Linked DNA regions of Homo sapiens: region 2 is linked to region 1. Evidence: promoter capture Hi-C in human tissues and cell types (Jung and others, 2019). All regions are on one chromosome and are shown on one strand. The core of a region is centred on a gene start or on the middle of the fragment in contact, and the rest is flanking DNA. Distances in the headings are between cores, read along the strand shown. Region 1 holds the start of CNDP2 (carnosine dipeptidase 2). Region 2 overlaps ZNF516 (zinc finger protein 516).

Evidence for each region. Contacts are between HindIII fragments. The study calls those that stand out against the background at their distance.
Region 2: a contact is called between a fragment that was not itself captured here and the fragment with the promoter of CNDP2 in region 1, in 1 of the 25 tissues and cell types used here (dorsolateral prefrontal cortex).

Annotation. Positions count from the first base shown.
Region 1 is chr18:74,494,737-74,498,030 of GRCh38, reverse strand. It overlaps CNDP2 (carnosine dipeptidase 2), which reads right to left and starts at 1,668. Exons shown (of 12, transcript NM_018235.3): 1 at 1,600-1,668. RefSeq lists enhancers at 560-659, 1,043-1,555, 2,113-2,382 and silencers at 1,153-1,202, 1,333-1,842. The HindIII fragment of the contact is 9,626 bases long and covers 1-3,294 here.
Region 2 is chr18:76,365,948-76,369,241 of GRCh38, reverse strand. The region is part of intron 6 of ZNF516 (zinc finger protein 516); the gene reads left to right. Among named protein-coding and RNA genes, the nearest start is that of ZNF516-AS1, 120 kb to the left of the region's middle. The HindIII fragment of the contact is 5,402 bases long and covers 1-3,294 here.

The DNA of each region.
Region 1 (3,294 bases), core at 419-2,918:
ACCAGGCTAGGCCAGGTTCCAGTTTCTCCTCCCATTCACACTTCTGGGTTACTCCTGTTTCACTTCCCCCCACCTCCCCCGTTACAAAGCCATTAAATGGAACCATTTTTATATGCTCTGGAGAACACCACTAATTAAGGTAAAAGCAGTATGCTGATTTAAGCAAAAGCATTATCCTTTTAAATGACACCTCACTCCCCTCTAAAAATCTAAAGTTCATACGGAGTAACTTTATTTATTTATTTAGAGACAGGTTGTCATTCTGTCACCCAGGCAGGAGTGCATTGCTGTGATTTTGGCTCACTGCAACCTCTGTCTCCCAGGCTCAAATGATCCTCCTGCCTCAGCTTCCCAAGTAGCTGGGACTGCAGGTGCGCACCACCACACCCAGCTAATTTTTGTATTTTTTGTAGAGACGGGGTTTGCTCGTGTTACTCAGGCTGGTCTCGAACTCCTGGACTCAAGCGATCTGTCCGCCTTGGTCTCCCAAAGTGCCGAGGTTACACACATGAGCCACCATGCCTGGCAAGGGAGTAACATGATTTAAATGTTGAGACTAGTGGAGGGCAGGAGAAATTGCTGTGGCACCTGGAACCGTCAGTAGTACACACAAATGAGTCTTCTAGTTCTGAGAATCTCAGTCCCTGTCCCTTGATAATTGAAGGCATATATAACACAAATAACTGAATCACACCTTCATGTCTGATTAAGAACCAATAAAAGAATCTCCAATCTGCCCAAGCTAGAACTTGATCCCTAAGCATAATGTGGACTTCTCTTCCTCCACTCCTGCCTGCAAACATTAGGGACAAGGAAGGTATTGGTAGCAGGCCCCGGGTTCTCCGCCTCTTCCTGCAGTCTATGCTTGGATGATCTACGGAATCTGACCTTGGCAGGCGGTGGGGAGTTTGGTTTGGTGGCCCTGTCTGTGAGGACCAAATATTGTCTCTATTTCACAGATGAGGAAACTGAAGCCAATTGAATAAGACACCTGCCCCAGACCATCAAGCTGGCATGGGAATTTTGTCTCCCCTCAGACGCTTCCTCCTATAGCCTTAAACGCTGCCTCAAATGCTGGCGGGAGCTAGGGACGCTGTCCAGGGCCCTTTGAACCTGGGAGGCTTCTGTCCCGCCACACTCCCCACCCCAGGTCTCCGGGAAAGGGATCCGTTGGAGAAAGGCTGGAGTTCTCAGCAGGCCCCTGGGGAGGGGTGTGGCCTGACCAGCGCTCGGCTCCCCGCAACCCCATCTCCAACCCGGGTCGTTCCACTCGACTCCACCAGGGAGGGCCACGCAGGCTCAGGCCAAGTGCGCCGCCCAGCTTGTCCCTGCGTACCGGGGACGCGCTCGGCGCTGCTGGGACACGAGTGGCCCGGAGGTGCGAGAGGCCCCGGGGCCATGGCCGTCACGGGCCTCCGCCCCCGACCGCGCGCTCGGGAACAGCCCGGACACCATTGTTCCCGCCTGGCTGCGGCCGGGCGCCCCACGCTCCCCCACGAATGAGGCGTGACTCTCGCCGCTGACCCGGGTCCTCCCCGCCCAGCCCGTTCCCAGCTCAGGGCGCCCACCCGGGAAGGAAGGTCCATCAGGAAGACCCACCTGGGAAGGAAGGCCCACTAGGCAAGGCCCTGTTACCAGCAGCAAGCGCGGCGCCGGTTCCGTACCACGTGTCCCGGCCACGACCCCCGGCGCTGGCCCGCCCCGCGGTCGCCCTGGCCACCAACCCCGCCTTGTCCGGAGGGCAGGCATCGCCACGCCCCCGCCACGCCCACCAATCCAGCCACAGGCAGAGGGGTGGTGTCACTCTCTCCCCGCCCCATTTCCGCCCTGAGCCAGGTGCGGAAGGTGACGTCACCTCTCCCAGCTCCATTTCCGTCCCGCCCACCAATCCCGGCCTGGTCCACAAGGCTTTCGCCTCGTCGCCCCTCCCCGACGGTAGACGGGGATGTGGGCGTGGCGAGGGGGCGGAGATTTCGTGGGTTGGGATTCAGGGGAGGCAGGGCACACGGGAGCGCGTGTCCGGAGCTGTGGGCTTGTGCTGTGCTTCCCGGTTGCTCTTGGGTGGGCGGGGGGCCTGGTGCTTCAACGGTGGGGTCCGAGAAGTCGCCTGCAGTGCGGCAATGGAGTCCAAAACTAGGGGGCCCTGACTCCACCCTCTGATCTCCCAGGCTCCGGAGGTCCCACGACGCTCCCATTCCCTTGCGCATCCAGCACTGCACTTTCCGTTGCGTTTCAGTCCCGGCGGAGTCGGGGCACGGACTCCTGCGGGTCACACAAGCTCCAATGAGAGGTCGGTCTGAACTGGATTAGGAAAGCGTTCGCCAGCATCGTTACCAGTAGTGGAAATATTTTAGTATTTGTGTCCCATGACCCTAGGAACTGATGAAGGAAGCAGAGCCAGCACCGTGTTTGAGCGTCTGCGACAGCGCTTTCCTTTTTAATCTTAACAACAATTCTTGGGGGTAAAATTGTTATTCCCTAGTCTGCTCACTTTTCCAATAGAGTGTTCTCAAAAGACTTTCTTTAAACTTGTACCACTACCACATTCTTTAAGGAGTGATGGCTCGGGAGTTATTATTTTTTAAAAATGAATTTAATAGTTGTAAGAGATGTATACGTTCCCACATAAAGTAAAATGTTAAAATTGTCTCCTCCCTTAAAATTTACATGGTTTGTTTCCTCTTTTTATATTTATTTATTTATTTATTTATTTATTTATTTAGAGACAGAGTCTTGCTCTGTTGCCATGCTGGAATGCAGTAGCCCAGTCTCAGCTCACTGCAAGCTCCGCCTCCCAGGTTCAAGCCATTCTGCCTCAGCCTCCCGAGTAGCTGGGACTGCAGGTGCGCACCACCGCACCCAGCTAATTTTTGTATTTTTAGTAGAGACAGGGTTTCACCATATTGGTCAAGATGGTCTCGATTTCTTGACCTACTGATCCACCCGCCTCAGCCTCCTAAAGTGCTGGGATTACAGGCGTGAGCCACCCCGTCCCCCCCATCCCTGCCTCCTCTTTTATTTTTTATTTCTATTCCACATCCCTCATAGAATTTTGTTAAATGTAACATTTTTATACTTAATAGTCTTACTCATATCCTAATCATTTCTCTACAACAGACTATGATAAAAATTTAAATTAATATTTACTTTGCTATAACCAGATGAGATTAGGCATGTTCAGGGTGGTATGGCCATAGACACTTTGCTATAACCAAAAAGCTTTAAGTATTAACATTTTTTCTTCTGGATTAAATTCTCATAATAATTATTGTACATGAATGATAAAAAGAAAAA
Region 2 (3,294 bases), core at 565-3,064, 1.9 Mb before region 1:
CTGAAAATGGAATGAAAAGATTTCCAAGTGTATGACCTCCACTGCAGTTAGGAAGCATTGTCCTTTTTAACAGAAATAAAACCCTCTTGCCACAAACAGTCACCGTGATGTGTTTGTGGGATGTAGTAAGAGCAAGGTCATGCCGTAATTGAGAATTACAAGTTGATGTTACAACTGGAGTGAGTGCCAAGTGTTCCTGCTTACACAGGTGACCCGTTCAACCCACCAAAGACCTGGCTTTTGGGTAGGAATGTTTGACAGGGGCGGGAAGCCAGGCCAGGTGGATCTAGGAACAAGTTGGTGAGATTCTTCAGGAATGCATGTCAGTTTATTTGCTGCCTATTAATTCTACCTAAGCCTCTTTGAAAAACTCTTGTCCCAGGGAGAAATAGGAGATCAAAAAGCAAATCATTTAGACTATTTTAAATAATGTCTGTGTTACTTATTGGTTATGCCCCAGCATAACCAGTTGTTTATAATAATTTTATTATATGAGTAACAATATAATAATTGTTACTCATTCTTGATTCTGATATAGAAAAGATGTACTTATATTGTTCTCTTTGTCTCTCTAGACTAAAATATTGTTATTTTATACTTCATACCAACTATCCTCTTAGTTTCAAGTTTACAGTAACTCAATATTGTGGTCTGAGTGAATGTGGCTTTCAGACTTAGCCTGTGTATTAACTGTTGGTGTGAAGATCTCGGTGGGTGAGCTTTCCTTTCATTCATAGGACAGTGGCAGTTCAGGCCTGGCATTAAAACTGAGCTAGATTTGTATGCGTCTCCTGCTGTGGCAGTTGGTTTGTTAAATTCCATATCTGAGCTCATGGCCTCTGATGGTACTTTTTGTCTTTCATTACATTTAAAGTAGCTTTTGGTGATTTATCACTGAATGCTCTGCAGAGTTCTCTAAGGAAATTCCATTTTCCTTAACGTACTTTGGAACTATAAGCATTCCTATAGAGATTTGTTGGGTAGGATAATTGCAAAACACATCAGTAATAGGTAGAGGTTTAAATCCTAGGGTTCCTTGTTCTTATCCTATAATTCTCATTGTTTACAGAAACCACAATAGCTGTGTTAAATTTAAGATACCTTATAGATTATAGAAAACATTCTGTAGTTATGTATGTCTAGAATGTGATTCATACTTACCAGCCATGTTCTTTTTCATGTTTAGCGTGCTTTGCTAACATTCATTAATATTTAAATCGGATTCTTTTCCTGTGGGCTTTAGATGCTAGGGATCATGGCTGTGGTTTTTTTTGATCATGCAACACCGTGTATTCATGCAGAAATTATTTGATGTGACACTTAAAGTCAATGGACTTTTATAGATATACATAATAGATGCTACATTATGTAATTGAAACAGTATTTGGAAATTCCATTTTATAATAATTTATTCACTTACTAACAATATTTATTGACCACCCACTGCGTGCCAGGCCTGTGCAGGATACTGGGGCGACAAGATAACCATTTTTCCTGCTTCTCTGGTTCAAAAGGTCCATGGGTGGCTTAGACAGGAAGTAGGGCAGAGCAAGGCAGCGCTGTGACATGGGAAGGGCCCTGTCATTGAGGCTGGAGGCGCTTGGAAGACTATGGAGGGGCGGAGGGATGGGCGTCCCTAAAGAGCTCAGCACGTGGAAGGCCCGGAGTGGAGGAACACATTCCACTGGAGGAACTGGGTGGGGGTCAGCTCACGGAGGGAGAGCCAGAGTGGGTGGGCAGAGGCTCGGGCCTGGGGTCTAGAGAGCACCAGGTCTCCTTGTTGAGACTCTGAATTTCTTCCCACAGGGGATAGAGAGCCCTAGGCAGGGCTGACACCGTCAGAGTTGTAGCTTGAGAAGAATGAGCAGGTCACACGCTACTGAGAATGGGCTTAGTGGTTCCCGGCAGCAGAAGCAGGTCTTTGGAGGCGCTTAGCTTGATCCCAGCGAGAGATAAGGTGGCCTGAGCTGGCATGGGGCCGGAGAGAGCGGGTAGATTTGAGGGACTAGAACAGAGGGATTGGGCTTGGAAAGTGAGGGACAGGAGGGAATGGTGTTGACCCCAGGTCTGGCTTCAGGCAGCTGGCCCCAGGGATGACCCATTCCCCTGAGGCTGGAAGGAGGAGCAGGATAAAACATTTCCAGATAGAATTCAAGGTAAGTTTGAGAGCTTTGTGGAAACCCAGGTAGGAATGTCTAATAGGCAGGCGAAGATACGGGTTTATAGTGGAGAGGAGAGATCCTGGCAGAGACTGTATCTAATAGCTGTCAACATTTAAATTCATTGAAGGTCAGCCAGTTCTACTCTGAGAGACCCAGATAATATAATCTATTGGGTTATTGAGTAGAGGCTTTAACTTTGATCCTCTACCATAGACATATAATGTAACCTAAGTTCCCTTATCTGTAAAATAATGATAATGGTGCTTATTTTGTATACTTGCTGTGGAAATCAAGTTAGGACATACACCACAGAGCACACATTCAGTGTGACCTCTTGTCATTTAGTCTAAAAATAAGCAATTTTCCTTAATAACTGGAGGAAACTCACATACTTGGAGAGCCTTTCTGTGGTGAGCACACACGTGAACACATCTACACACATACTTACGCCCGTGTAGACAGATGGCTGTCATTGATAAGCCAGTTGGTAGATGTTGCTTATGAACTCAGTTTGATGGCATGTTTTCTTTACTTGGTGTCTTGTGGCTTTGTCGGAACCTGCCAGCGTGCTTCTCTTTGTTTTGTTTGGTTTAAGAGACTTGTCGTTAATTATTCATTAAAGAGAGGATGCAGGAAAACCGTGAGTTTGAGAAAAGTGTTGTCAAGATAGGCATAGTTACCTCATTTGCTGCATTCTGTTCAAAAGCCCTCCGGTTGGTAGACAGACATGGTTGGTTTTTGTAGAACAACTGCCCTTACTTTGTCATATTAATATTTGAATATTCTATACTGGAAAATTCTGAGAAATTGTGATATACCGTCTATCTCAGCAAAACAATTCAACAGGCACGAGGGCCAGGTAAATCTGCTGAAATTGATTAAATTCACCATAGGTTAGAATCAGGAATAAATAATTAAAGTCAGTTTAATTGATCAGCACACACCTGAAGCTTGAAGAGAAATAAAGTAGTTTCCTTTCGTGGTGACACTAGTGGCAGTCTTTTTCAGCACACGCACTGTTTAAGCCTCTTCCATGTTATATACACATACTTGAAGACTGTAGAGGAGGTTATGAAAACCAGATAGTCAAGCAGCCATTTCTTTCTGAACACCTTCCTTTGGTAGGTGGTAA